Linked DNA regions of Homo sapiens: region 2 is linked to region 1. The links are contacts of gene promoters, found by promoter capture Hi-C in human tissues and cell types (Jung and others, 2019). All regions are on one chromosome and are shown on one strand. Each heading gives the region's core, a stretch centred on a gene start or on the middle of the fragment in contact. The rest is flanking DNA. Distances are from core to core; before and after follow the strand shown. Region 1 holds the start of OSBPL2 (oxysterol binding protein like 2). Region 2 overlaps LOC105372706 (a long non-coding RNA gene).

Region 1 (7,085 bases), core at 3,087-5,586:
CAAGAACTCCCCGTATGAGCCCACAACAGGCGCTCTCTGGGCACCCCTGAAGGTTGCAGTCCCAGCGCCTTTGATAAAGAAATGTGCTCAGTGTCTGCTCAGCCAAGAGCCCCTCAGACCCTTCCCACCCCTGACTTGCCTCAGCGTCGGGGCCACAGCCCCCAGGCCCTCAGTGCGCAGGTGAGAAGTACACACCTTACACCCAGGAGAGAGGCCTGATGACCGCCACAAGCCCTGAGGGTGCGGGAACCTCTTCAGGCCCCAAACTATGGAGCCAGCCACTAGCTCAACAGGACTGATCCCAGAGTTTGTTTCTCAAAATACATCAAGCGAGTGTTCCACTGAAAACAGAAGGCAAGCAAAGAGAAACAGCCACAAACATCAGGCACGAGTCTCAGATCCAGTCCCTTATAAAAGCTCACTTCCACCACTCAGCTCAACTCAGAGGTCACAGGATTTGCATCAGCAGAAGCTCCAGCGGAAAGAATGTGGATGCTGTGACATTCTGCTGAATGATCCCAAGTTCTTTTCTGAATCTGGAAGGAAAAGGAAAGAAGTGCCAAAAAGTTCACGCAAACAGTGCTGTGAGCTATTTAACAGATGCTTTTATTATCAAGAGCTGCAGAGGTGGGCCGGGACACCACCACGCTTCCACAGTGGGACCCTAGCCCAAACCAGCAGCCTGAGAGGCCGGGACACCATGCCTGAAACTCACTAGCAAGAACACTCTGAAAAAGCAAAAATGACAGCAGATTTACAAATCAACTAGCATATGTGGAAAGTGCATTTAAACTATCAAACCAGAACCCACCATATTAACTCAGGACTTCGGTCCTTTTTAATAATCAGTCATGTTCAAATACTGACTTCCTTTCAGTGTAGATAAGGTTATAAATCAACCTGAAAATGTACTACATATTGGAATTAAACCTCGTACCTGACAATCTGTGCTAAACACTAAACGAAATGTCAACACCCAAACAGGAAGTATGACAATGACTAGGAGAAAATCAGCCCACACCCAAAGATCCCGGGACACCTGAGGGTGTGACTGCTGCACTGCTGAGAGGCTCCAGCTTCAGCAGGTGTTGGAGCCAAGGGCGGCCCAGGCACCCACAACGTATCAGACACTTGATGTTATATTTTCACAGATTCCACATAGTAATCCGTCTTACAGGCAAAGACACTGAAGGCAGGAGCCAGTGGGAACCCACCCAGGACCCAAGAGCCCTGGTCTGGCGCACCACCTTCGCAAAGATGCTGTGACTCAGGAAGGCACGGCGCCAGCTGTGCCTGCACGGCCAGACAAGACATGGCTTGCATGGGGACATTAAAGAAATCACCTTGAGGAGATGGCAGCTTCCCTGCTTGAAGACAGCATAAGAACCTAAAATGTGTCAACAATTCCCTTATACAAAATGTCACTTTTGTAATTGGCTGAATGTACTAAAACTTTAAAAGTCGAGCAAGCTTTAATGACAAATCCAAGACCCAAAATTAGCCAGGTGTGGTGGCGGGCGCCTGTAGTCCCAGCTACTTGGGAGGCTGAGGCAGGAGAATGGTGTGAACCCGGGAGGCAGAGCTTGCAGTGAGCTGAGTTCGCGTTTGCAGTGAGCCGAGTTCGCGCCACTGCACTCCAGCCTGGGCGACAGAGCGAGACTCCATCTCAAAAAAAAAAAAATTCCAAGACCCATCTGCTGGCATCTCCTGGACGGCACAGAGGAGAGACACTGGGATGAAAGTCAAGTGGCATTTTTTTCACATTCAAACAGCACCTCTCATTAACATGTGGAACACAGCAGAGTCTGACCCTCTCAACGCACTCGAGGCGTGGAAGAAAAATGTCCTACGTGTGTACTCTAAGGCAGTGTGTGAAGTCCCCTGGAACTGAACTCAGAACGGAGACCTCAGAGTCTGGACTGTACGCCTGTCAGCACCCATGCCCCTCAGTCCTCCCTCTTCACACAGAGACCACCACTGAATCTGCCAGTAACAAAGGAGCTGGGTGGCAGGGAAGGTATTCTGGCAAAATCCTGAATGGTCAAACGGTAAATTACTTTATTTCAGAAAAAATGAAATGGCTTTGTAAACACTCAGGCTCACAAAAAAGAAAGTCTATTAGTTCTATATGTAGCAAAATCCCGAAATTCTGACACAGAGTAATGCAGCATGATTAGAATATTCTAAACGAAAATGTTAAATGAAAATCTTGATATTAAAAGGCAGTACAGGGTAGTGTTTAAGAGTGTGAACCCTGGAGCCTGGGTTCAAATCCATATTTCATAATTTACTGCTGTGTGGTTTAGGTAAGTTACTTAACCTCTCTGTTCCTTAGCTTCCTCATGAATGAACTAAGGATAATGTCAGTACCTGCCCAGTGGACTGTTGTGAAGATCACACAAAGAAAGTGAATACGACATGCTCGTAACAGTCCTGGAACAATCATTATTAAATATTATCGTCTGCTGGGGTAAGAGCTGTCATTAATAGATGGACACATGAAGAAAACAGGGTAAATTCTATGAGGGAGACTCAGTCACTCACTCACTCATTGCCACATTCTAAAAGACGACACTGTGGCAGGCACTGGGCTGGGCAGGGAGGAAGTGCCACCGACAAAGTTCCTGTCCTCAACAAGGGGAAGGTAACTGGCATTCCGGGGTGCGCACTAGGTGTCAGAGACTGTGGTAGAAAATGATTTCATGGCAGGGCGCGGTGGCTCGCACCTGGAATCCTAGCACTTTGGGAGGCTGAGGCAGGCGGATCCCTTGAGGTTAGGAGTTCGAGACCAGCCTGGCCAACATGGTAAAACCCCATCTCTACTAAAAATAAAAAAATTAGGCGGGCGTGGTGGCCGGCGCCTGTGGTCCCAGCTAGATGGGAGGCTAAGGCAGGAGAATGGCTTGAAGCCGGGAGACGGAGGTGGCAGTGAGTCAAGATCGCACCACTGCACTCCAGCCTGGGCAACAAAGCGAGACTCCATCTCAAAACATAAAACAAGAAAATGATCTCGTTTGCTTCTCTTATCAGCAAAGTGCTACATGTCCGGATGAAGGAGTTGAGGCTGACAGCCAGAAAAGAGGCCATGGGCACGAGTTAGGAAGGGCAGCAGGGACGGCCGTGGCTTCCCAGCATGTGGCCCCTGCACCAGTTCCGGGCTCCTCAACTCTCCGCTGTCCTCACCACACATCCAGCTGGTGGGAAGGCCGCACAGCACCCAGCCAGGCCCACAGCAGGCATTCGAGAAACGTCTATCCAACCAAACCGAATGGGACCCCTTCTCCAGGTGTTCCGGGCAGTCATCCCAAAGCTGCCGGAGCCAGGCTAGGCCAGGGCCTGTCCTAGAGGACGGTTCAGATAGAAACGCCCCTGGGAGGTGACCCTCACCCCAGGAGAGCCTGCAACACCCCGACACCCACTGCCTCGTCGCCGGTCCTCCCATGAAGCGGGGAGGCTGAGGTGCTGTGACGACCTAACAGTCTTGGTCTGGGCTTATAAACTTGGAAAGTCTAAAGACGTATTCTTCTGAGTACCAAAATATAACTGGCGAAAGAAGGAACCTCTTAAAATTACATTACCAAAGATAGGTTTTAGGTAGCAAGTTCTCAACCGTGTGTAGTCTGCTAAGATTTATAAATTAAAAACAAAAACAGAGCCCAGGGGAACGGACAAGGGCTCGCGGGCACCCTCCCCGGGACGACGTGCACACAGGCCTGCGGGACAAGAAGGCCAGGGTCGGAGTGGGACTGCGTCTCCCTGCCCTTCTTCCCGGCGGAACTCGCCCTCCTCACCTACAGGATCGCCCTAAATGCGCACGAAATCCTTCCCTGTTCCCGGTGAGGTGGTGAGAGAGGGCGAGGCCGCGAGCAGGTGCGCCCGTCCCCACTTCCTGCTCAGCGGGGCAGCAGGGGGGCTGGGGATCTCGGGGGGGCCGGGCCGGGGGTCCCGGGATCGCAGTTGCCGGGCGACCGCAGGGGGAAGGGTGCGGGGGCCGCGGGACCCAGGCCCAGGCCCCACGCCCGGCCGGAACTTTCCTCCCAAAGTTTCCCCGGGGCGCCAGGCTGCGGCCTAGGCCGGGCGCGCCTCCCAGTGGGGGTCGAGGCCGGGGCCGGGGCCGGGGCTGGAGGCGGCCTGCGGACCCGGGTCCTGCCCGGCCCGCCCTCCCCTCCCCGCCCCGGCTCCAGCCCCAGCCCGCGGCCCAGGCCCCGCAGCTCGCCGGGGTCCCGGGCCTTCGCGTGGCGGCGGCGGGGGCCACTCACCTGGACGCGGGTCCCTCGGTTGCCGGCCGAGCTCACTGCCGCCCCGCCCCCGCCCCGTAGGCCCGCGACCCACTGACACCGAGGCGGAAGTGCGGCCCGCCGCCTCGCCGACTGACAGCCCGCGCCCGCCACTCGCTGCGCCCGGCGCCGCCGCGTCGGCCGCTGCCTGCCCAATCAGCGCCCGGCCCGAGGCTCGCGCCGGGGGGTGGGACTATGCTAATCCCTTCGCGAAGGGCCTCTACCTGTGCCCCCTCAGAGCCCCGCCCACGCAGCGGAGTGACGGCAAGGACAGCCAGTCACAGCAGGAGAGAGGCGGGGTTATGCCGCCCCTGAGCCAAAAGGGGAGGGAGGCAAGGAGGAAAGGGCGTGGCTGCAGAGAGCAGAGTTGACAAACAGTGAGTCAGGTGGCCCGGGGCGTGGGTGCTCCGCCCTCAGGTGCACTGCGTCCTGGCGGCAGTGCGGGCCTGCGAGGCTACCCAAAGCCCTGGGGGCTTTTTCCTACAAATGCTGGGGACCGTGCGATAGCTGGGGCGTAGCTGCTTCCACTGTCCTACCAAATCCTGAATATCGTCCACCTCCTTTGCATGCCATTCACCGCCAACCAAAATCCAGCGCCAATTTACCCCTCCAGCTGCATCCCCGACCGTTTCACCACCATACTTAAAACCCTTTGGACTCCCACTGACCTACAGTGGCTCCAGGGTTAAGCCCAGAAGTTCTGGAATCAGACCTGGAGCTTGCATTCTTTACCAGCTGTGTGGATTTGGACAAATTAATTAACCTCTCTGAGTCTGTGATCACTCAGTTTCATCTGCAAACCAGGGTTCCCCTGTCAACATCTCATTGAAGTCATGGGTCTGGTTTGAGGTGAGTGGAGTGGCATAAACCAGGCTGGCTACATAGTCACAGCAGTTGGTTTAGGGGTCAGCCTGTGACCCAGTTCTAGCCAAAGAGGCTCAGTCCTGGGACTTTTGCTGTAGGGTCAGAGTTCAGACCGGAGGGGAGGCTGAAGTCAAATGACTCTCCCATCTGCCCACAGACCTCTCCAGAGCTGGGTTAGGTGAGAGAGGGAAGGGGCCAGTCTTCCACATCTCACTACCCGAGAACAGGGCTGCACGAGAATGAAGCCAGCCCAGAGGAAAGCCGGAGCAACCACGGCCGGGTCACGTGGACCCTGCTGCACCTCAGCAGGTCCTTTCCTTGACTTTTCAGTTACGTGAACCACATGCTTGTTTCTGCTTCAGCCCATTTGAGGTAAAGCCAAGAGTCCTGGGCTTCCTGTGGCCTTGAGAGCTCTGGCAGATGACCCGTGACCCCGCAGTGCGTCCTGCAGCAAAGCCAGCCCCCGTTGGGCCTCTGCACCCCCTCCTCAGGCCTTGTCTCCCCACTTCCAGGCTGCCCCTAGCAGGGCCATGGAGGCAGGGACAGGCCTTTGCCCCATCTGTGGCCCCGTGGCAGACGTGGGTACTCTCTATAAATTTCAGGGCATGAGTGAGCCAATGAACGTGGCCTCTGTGGCAGGGGTGGGGCCCAGGCCACATCTCTGGGCCCAGCAGGGCCGTTCTCCCCCACCCCAGGGGCTGGCCCCACTCACTGGTGGGCCACTGTCAGTCGGCGCCACTAGAGACGTGCCGGGACCAGGAAGGAGCTGGCTGAGCCTCTCCTGAAGAGAGAACGGGGAGGAGGGCGGGCAGGCCTCAGAAACAAAGGGGTTGCCATGGTTACCTCTGAAGAAAGCGACTCCAGCCGGTGAAAGGGAAGGGAAGGCGTGCGGCCCCCAAGCCAGGACAAGGACGATGAGGCCAGTTGCCACGGAGATGACTGCGCTCCACAGCTTTCCCTGTGGGCCTTGCCAGGGCCAGCTCAGGGTCCCAGAAACCCATCACTCTCCATGTCCCTCACCCTAAGTCTCTAAGACTCTAACCCCTGTGCCCTTGAGGGGATCCAACCTGCCCACCCACCCCTTGACCACGAGCTCTGCAGTGAGGGCAGCCTCAGAGGCTCAGGCAGAAGGACCCTCTCATCTGCCCAGGGACCACCCCAGGGCCAAGCAGGGAGATCCACCCTGGCCTTGGGGTTGGGGGTGTGATCTCAGATGGCCCCTGGGCTGGAGCAGGGGTTTCACCCCTCTCCACAAATGCAGTAACTGAGCTTCAAGGGTAGTCTGCCGTCAGCCAGCACTGCTGGAGACGTGCCAGGACTGGGAAGGGTACTTCCTCCCCGGGGCCAGTTGCTGGGACTAGGCGAGAATCCTCCCTCAGTTGGTGGGTAGTAAGGAGGGTGCCTTGAGACCAACTTAGGCGTCTTTGTTATGATCTTTACTAGGTCACGAGGCCAATTCAAGAGGCACAGTTCTCCAAGGATGGAAGATGGGGGTGGAGAAGGCAACAAAGATGGATGAGCTGGGGCCATGATGATGAGGATGATGATGTTGATGATGATGATGGTGATGGCGGCCGAGTGCCCTGTGATTTACAGGCCCATCTGGTTTCATGTTTGCAACAGCCAATCAAGTGGGTACCAGGTGCCATCATTCCCACTTTACAGATGAGAAGACTGAGCCCCAGACAGGTTAAGTGACTCCCCCAGCCCTGCAATGAGGAAGGGCCCAGCACAGCTCCAGGCACAACAAGCAGGCACTCCAAGCATAGGGAGGTCTGGTGGACCAGGCCTGGCCCAGGAGCTTGTCGGCAAGGCAGAGCCGCATCCAGGCTCCCGGACCAGGATCCGCACACGAACAACAGGCCCAGGAGTTCCCATGGCTGTGGCTGCTGGACCCCCGCACCAGGTGGGCTGGCGGCTGTGTCCCACACATGCTCTCTAGAG
Region 2 (7,085 bases), core at 1,554-4,053, 140 kb after region 1:
GGTGACAGCACATTCGAAGCAGCAGTGGTTACAGTTTCCTTCTAAAAATACATTGAAGACAGAGTCAAATGTAAGGGGGTGACTTCTGGTTCAGCACAGCGTGCAGAGCACACGCTTCTCCCTGGATCTTGGACCACAGAGGGGACACTGCTGACCTTGCTCCTCTGGGGCATCCCCTCCCTAGACTCACGGGAGGACCACAGAGGACACGGCTGACCCTGCTTATCTGTGGGCATCTCCTCTCTGGCTCAGCTGGAAGACAGACAGCTGGGCAGTACCAACTGGGCAGACCAGGGAGAGGCAGAGCCCAGGCACACAGGGTGGGGAATCCCCAGGACCCCAGAGGGACTCCATCCAGAAGGCCAGGCAGCTCTGAAGGTGGAGCATGGGGTGGACTGGGAGCTCAGACCCACCCCTAGGAGACTGCTTTTCCTACAGATGCAGGCAGAAGACAGGGGTCCAGGTGCTGCTCTCAGGAGTCAGGGCTGGGAGGTTCTGGGCTGGGGCCAGGGGTAGGCACAGCCTGTGAGAGAGCAAGGCACTGAGGAGGGCCAGGAGATCAGGTCACAGCCACATCCTGAAAGGTGGCCTGAGCCCTTTACTCTGCTCCCTCCCCGAGTGCCAACAGCCTGATGTGTCTCCCGGGTGGGAGGTGGGGGCTCTGTGGAATTGCGCTGGCCTCTTAAGAACCCTGACCACATATTCAGACCTTGCTGCTTCCCCCTCTGAGGTCCACCCTGGAGCAGCCCCTCATCCCCCTACACCCACACTGCTCCACCTCAGCACTTTTGAGCCTCTCATGAAGACACGTGGACCCCAAGGGTCACTGGACTTTGAAGAAGAAAAAGACCCCACACGAAAGACAGATCCCACATCCCCATGCACCAAAGAAGGGAGCTTGGGGGAAAGAGTAGCAACCTGAGGAACAAAAAATATAAAAAAGAAAAAACCTTATTGCTGATACCCTTGGAGAGAGAAGAGAAAACAGCACATCCATGACCTAAGAACAGGATGTAATAAAAAAGGAACAGTGAGAAATTAAGAAAGAGCTCTTGGAAATGAAAAAAAAAAAGCACAAATGAAAACTTCCATAAAAGATAAATTTCTCAGGCGGGGCGTGGTGGCTCACATGTGTAATCTCAGCACTTTGGGAGACCAAGGCAGGTGGACCATCTGAGGTCAGGAGTCCGAGACCAGCCTGGCCAACATGGTGAAACGCTGTCTCTACTAAAAACACAAATATTAGCTGGGCATGGTGGTGGGCACCTGTAATCCCAGCTCTTCAGGAGGCTGAGTCAGGAGAATCACTTGAACCCAGGAGGTGGAGATTGTGCCATGAGCCGAGATTGTGCCACTGTACTCCAGCCTGGGTGACAGAGAGAGACTCCGTCTCAAAAAAAAAAAAGATAATTTTTTCATAAAGTAGAGAAAATGAAATGAAAAATAGGGAAGAAAACATTAATAAGAGCTCCAGAAAGAGAAAACAGAATGGAGAGCATCGCCAAGCAAGTGATTTATGAGGAAACATCCTAAAATGTGGACGTGAGGCTCCAGGTTGAATGAGTGAAGGAAGGCCGGCATGGCATCATGAAATTTCTGAACACAGGACATGAAGCCAACTCTTGGCAGAGCAGGTCCCAGTCCCACGAAAGAGCTGGTGATCTGACTGGCACTGCCTCTCAGGTGGCTGCAGGTGGACAATGTCGGCAGCGGGCAAAACCTTCACAGCCCCGTGGGAAGCTACTCTGCATCCTCGTCCCCCGGGGGACCCTAAGACTGAGGAGGCCTCCAGGCACCTTTCTCAGTGAACTCCTAGAGAATGTGCAGGGAGTGAGCGGGGAGGGCAGTCGGGGGACCCAGGTTCCGCTCAGGACAAACCCCAACAGAGGTGTGGGAGCTCGTTGCCCATGGACAGCAGTGTGAAGAGCAGCCGCCTGGGGAGTCAGGGCCAGGCTGCCCATGAGAGCCCCTGGGAGGATGGGGCTGATGGCTTTCTTGCTCCCCACGTGGAAAGGTGGCCCAGGACACGCTTTCTAGAGTCCCTGGGGAGGTTTGGGATGGGAACAGGCAGACACAGGATAAACTGACCGCAAGAACGACTTACACCCAAAGCCTGGAGGAGTGCGCTGCTCAGGCCTGCGTGGGCCCAGGGGACCACCCTCTGCCGGGCGGGTGAGCAGAGGAAGTGCAGGGAAGCAGCAGCAGGACAGCAGGGCCGTGGGGCTGGGAATCCAGAGCAGGCAGGGCCACGTTCTTCTCTTCGTGGCCTCATCTGTGGCCTCAGATCGTTTTGATGCAGATGCAAAGGATGCCTTAGGAGAGTCAGCTCTGTCGCCATCAGGATTTCCGTCTGTATCAGAGGCAAGGGTGTACCCATGGGAAGCAGAGGTGGGTCCAGGGGTGCACGGAGGAGGGTGGGCTGCTCAGACAGCAAGCAGGTGGTGAGGACAAACCTGAGAGAAGCCGTCTCAGCCAATAGCAGTGGCCACTCAGATCATCCAGTCATTGGTTCATTCATTGATCTGTTGATGGACTGATCCCCCCATCACTGATGTACTGATCCCACAGACACTCATTGAGTGTGGGTCAACATACAATCCCCACGCTGGTGAGCATCGGGGCTGGGGTGGGGCTGGGCACTCTATGGTAAGGGCTCCTTCCTTGGTCTGGGACTGAGGCCTCCTACCTGCTGCACCCTGGATGTACCTCGAGGCTTCCAGGCCAACTCTAGGTGTGTGGTTTAATGGGCCTGGGTGTGGCTGAGTATGGGGTTTTATCCAAGCTTGCCAGGCATTCTAATAAGTAGCCGGGGGTATGAGCTGCGGGTCTAGGGAGAGCGGGGGAAGCTTCAGTGAGAATCTAGGAGGAAGGAGTGGGCAGAGAGGTGGGCTGCAGAGTCCCCTGAAGGCTGGTGTGGGGAGGCAGCTGTGAGGGTCTGAAAGGGGGTGTGGAGGGACAGGCCGGGGAGAGCCAGGAGGAGCCCCCACGGAAGGGCTGGGTTGAGGGAGGGCATGGGAGAGCAGAGCTGGGAGGTTACAGGAGAGCCTGGAGAGGACAGAGGGGACGGCCTCGGCATGGCAGCTGCACCCACAGAGCAGGCAGTACCACATGGCACCTATCGAGTGCTGCCAGATGCCCAGTGACTGAAGCAGGGCTAGTGGGGCGATCTGTAGGCAGGATGTCCATGGGGTCCTGGGTCTTGAAGTGAAGAACATGCTTCTAGACTGTTCTTCACTGCCCTGTTCAGCTTTCCCCTGTCCAAGACGCCGGCTCCCAACAGGTCGGGGGGTGACCTGGAATGGCGTGGAAATCCTCACCAGCTGGAAGATGGTGGAGTTGGGTCCAACCCAGCAGCCACCCCCTCCACCATGAAGTGGCAGGAGGTGAGTTCTGGGGAAAGCTGGTTGGTTCTAAGCAGCACCCTGTCTGTGGCAGGACAAACCCACCTGACCCAGTTCTGTGCTATTTTTTTCTTTTTTCTTCTTTTTTTTTTTTTGAGATGGAGCCTCCACTGTCACCTGGGCTGGAGTGCAGTGGTACAATCTCGGCTCACTGCAACCTCCGCCTCCCAGGTTCAAGCGGTTCTCCTGCCTCAGCCTCCTGAGTCACTGGGATTACAGGCGCCCACCACCGTGCCCAGCTAATTTTTTCTATTTTTAGTAGAGATGGGGTTTCACCATGTTGACCAGGCTGGTCTTGAACTCCTGACCTCGTGATTCACCCGCCTCGGCCTCCCAAAGTGCTGGGATTATAGGCGTGAGCCACCGCGCCCGGCCTGTTCCATTTTTAAACTCCCAGCTTGCGGGACTCCTTCACCATCACCTTTTGATCTCCCTGGAAGACAAGGGTTTTTTTGGTTTCTTTTTTCTTTTTCTTTTTTTCAAGAAGGAAATGTTCTAAAACAAAAGATTTGTCTAGGCCTACATCTCCTTTTCCACAAGATTCACCTGGGAGGAGGTGCAGGCCGGGCGCCGCTGCAGCATCTTTTCCTGCCGTTCACTCTGGTGCGGGAAGGGACGCTGGGGAGCCTGTGACTGAGGGAACAGTGGACCCCAGGCAGGCCCCTCCCCAACGGCACGCTGCAGGTCCAGCTTTGCTGGAGCCCTACGCTCGTCCTGGCTGCAGGGTCTGTCCTGAGCAGCCCGTGAGGCCGTCGGGGCCCTACCTGGCTCCTCTCCTGCTTCCTCCTGGCCAGTGTCCAAAGAGCCCCAGCCCCAGGCCCAGGTCCCCACCCTGGGCTCCCACGGATCTGGGCTCCAGCACATTGAACCCTGGGCTTTTCGGATGACTGTGTTCACTCTGTGTTTCAGAAATCCATTCTGACACCAGAAAAGCCATGGGCTGCCCTTCCCATCTTCCATTTCCCTGCAGTGGGGCCTGTCTGCCTGTGTGTAAAACGCTTCCTGGAATGTGCCCTCCGCCCGACTGTCCGCGGTGCCCCCACCCTGCCTCTGGCAACACCCATCCCCCTGCATGGGGGCACAGAATTCTCTCTCCCCACACCCTCTCCCACCTGCACCTGCCCCTTCAGAGCCATGCCCCCCCAAAAGCATGCAGATGCCTGCCTCATGCCCACCCTCTTCCTGGGAACCCTCATGCCCATGTCCGCAATCGCCTCCCACCCCCTACTCCACTACGTTTGCCCTGAGTGTGGTGCCTGCGTGGCCTTCCCGGAGCAGCCTCTTGACAACTGTTCTGCTGGGGCTCAAATTACCCATCACTGGACAGTGGGTGCAGTGAGCAGGGGGAGTCCCCAGTGTGAGGACAGGCGGGAACTGAAGTCATGTCGTGGGACGTGGTCATGGACAGGATGGTCTCCCACCCCTGGTGGGAGGACCCAAGGGTCTGGTCCCGTGAGGCCCCCAGGGCATTTTGTCCTTGGCTGTGCCCGTGGTGGCATCAACACGACTTCCCCAGCCTAGGGGCCTTCCTTCCTCTTTGAGACCGCCGCCACCCCCCACCCTGCTCTCTGATCCGACCAGGCAGGCCCTCCATTCCCCCGGTCCTTGCCATGCCCCATGAGGGACGCAGAGGTGGGACACTGTCCCTACTGCATGGATGAGAAACCCAAGCCCCAGGGCCCGCCTCGGGCCACACAGCCGGCGGGGACAGAAGAGGCGCCCAGTGCCATTCTGGGTGACAGGTAACCGCAGGGCCCAGCCCTTCCTGGATCCACTTCTCGGCTCCTGGCCTGGGCAGTGCAGATCCCCCTGCAGAGTGCATCCCTCCCCACGCCTGACAGTGTCTGTGCCCATGACACCTCAGGGAAGCCCTCCCTGGCTCCTGTCCTCCCCCTCTCAGCCCTGCTGGCTCCTCCTGCCGGCACAACTGTGCTTGTCTCCTGTCTCCCTGCATGGTGGGAATGTGTCCCTGGCGCCTGGAACGTGCCCGGCCCATCGTGGCACCTAGGAGGTGTCTGCAGAGCCAGTCAAGGTTGCAGAGGGGGAGCTGCTAGGAGCTCCTGGCCCCTCCTCTTTCCCCCGAAATGTCTGCCAGCAGATCTGAGAGGGCCTCAGATGGCGAAGAATGAGGGGACCTTAGGAAACCCCTGTGGTCCCTGCCGCAGGCCCCCAGGGGAGGGCTGGTGAGTGTGGTGGGGAGGGGGTGTAGCAGAGGAGGCAGGACTGGGGTCCCAGAGGGAGAGGTCGAGGTGGGGCGGTGGGCCAGGGCATGTGTGAGCATGAGCGTGCTCATGTGTGTGTATGCAAGGGTGTGCAGCGTGTGCACCACGCGTGAGAGTGCAGACATGTGCATGTGTCCGGCGAGGTCTCGGATTACCTGTTCTATGTTTCAACTTGGTGCTTTGGTCCTTTCTCCTGCAACTCAAGTCCAGGATAGAGGCCCAGTACCAGGCTCCTAATGAGCAGATTCTGGCCCTCATCCATTCCAGAGCAAGGCTTTCTGTCTGGTTTTGGGTTTTTGTCTTTTTTGAGACAACATCTTGCTCTGTCCCCCAGGCTGCAATGCAGTGGCATGGTCACAGCTCACTGCAGCCTCCACCTCCTGGGCTCAAGCAATCCTTCTGCCTCAGCCTCCCGAGTAGCTGAGACAACAGGCATACACCACCATGTTTGGCTAATTTTTAATTTTTTGGTGGAGACTGTGTCTCGCTATGTTGCCTAGGCTAGTCTTGAACTCCTGACCTACAGCGATCCTCCCACTTCATCCTACTGAGTAGCTGGGACTACAGGTGTGTACCATCATGCCTGGCTAATTTTTTTTTTAATTGTGTAAAGACAGGGGTCTCACTATGTTGCCCAGGCAGGTCTTAAACTCATGGTCTCAAGTGATTCCTTCCTCAGCCTCTCAAAGTGCTGGGATTACAGGCATGAGCCACTGCTTCTGACCTCCCTCTGCTGTGTTATTTTATTTTATTTTATTTTGTTCTGTTCTATTCTATTCTATTCTATTCTATTCTATTCTATTCTATTCTATTCTATTCGAGACGGAGTTTCGCTCTGTCGCCCAGGCTGGAGTGCAATGGCATGATCTTGGCTCACTGCAACCTCTGCCTTTCAGGTTTAAGTGATTCTCCTGCCTCAGCCTCCCAAGTAGTGGGATTACAGGCACTCACCACCATGCCTGGCCAATTTTTAGTAGAAACAGTGTTTCACCATGTTGGCCAGTCTGGTTTCGAACTCCTGACCTCAGGTGATCTGTCCGCTTCGGCCTCCCAAAGTGCTGGGATTACAGGCGTGAGTCACCGCTTCTGGCTTTCCTGTTTTTTAAGCTGAAAAAAAAAAAATGTGCCTGGCTTATCGAGGCAGGACATTCATTTTGCAAACTGTTTCTGAACCCCACACCCCATTTTATAAAATATGAACATTACAATGCAGATTGACATGAATTTGGGAAAGGTTTTAATGTATGAGATTACATTCATGAGCCTCTTCATTAATTCTAGCCTCGTACAGCACGTTACTCACTTTTGCTTCTCATGCGAAGAGCAAATGATGTGTTTCAATTATCCCTCATTTTGGGAAACCTGAGGGAAAAGATTTGAGAGCACGAGCACCTTTTGTTGTAGAGCAGGAGGTCTCAATCTCGGGGGCTGTGAGAATCATCTGAATGACCTTTGCAGAATA

Evidence for each region. Contacts are between HindIII fragments. The study calls those that stand out against the background at their distance.
Region 2: a fragment that was not itself captured here is called in contact with the fragment with the promoter of OSBPL2 in region 1 in 2 of the 25 tissues and cell types used here (lymphoblastoid cells and stomach).

Annotation. Positions count from the first base shown.
Region 1 is chr20:62,235,772-62,242,856 of GRCh38, reverse strand. OSBPL2 (oxysterol binding protein like 2) reads right to left here and starts at 4,336. Exons shown (of 14, transcript NM_144498.4): 1 at 4,260-4,336. LOC105369209 (a long non-coding RNA gene) reads right to left here. Exons shown (of 4, transcript NR_160555.1): 4 at 6,556-7,085. RefSeq lists an enhancer at 2,587-3,511 and a silencer at 4,209-4,608. The HindIII fragment of the contact is 10,947 bases long and covers 1-7,085 here.
Region 2 is chr20:62,095,206-62,102,290 of GRCh38, reverse strand. LOC105372706 (a long non-coding RNA gene) reads left to right here. Exons shown (of 3, transcript XR_936963.2): 3 at 1-1,148. Among named protein-coding and RNA genes, the nearest start is that of LSM14B, 24 kb to the left of the region's middle. The HindIII fragment of the contact is 5,244 bases long and covers 182-5,425 here.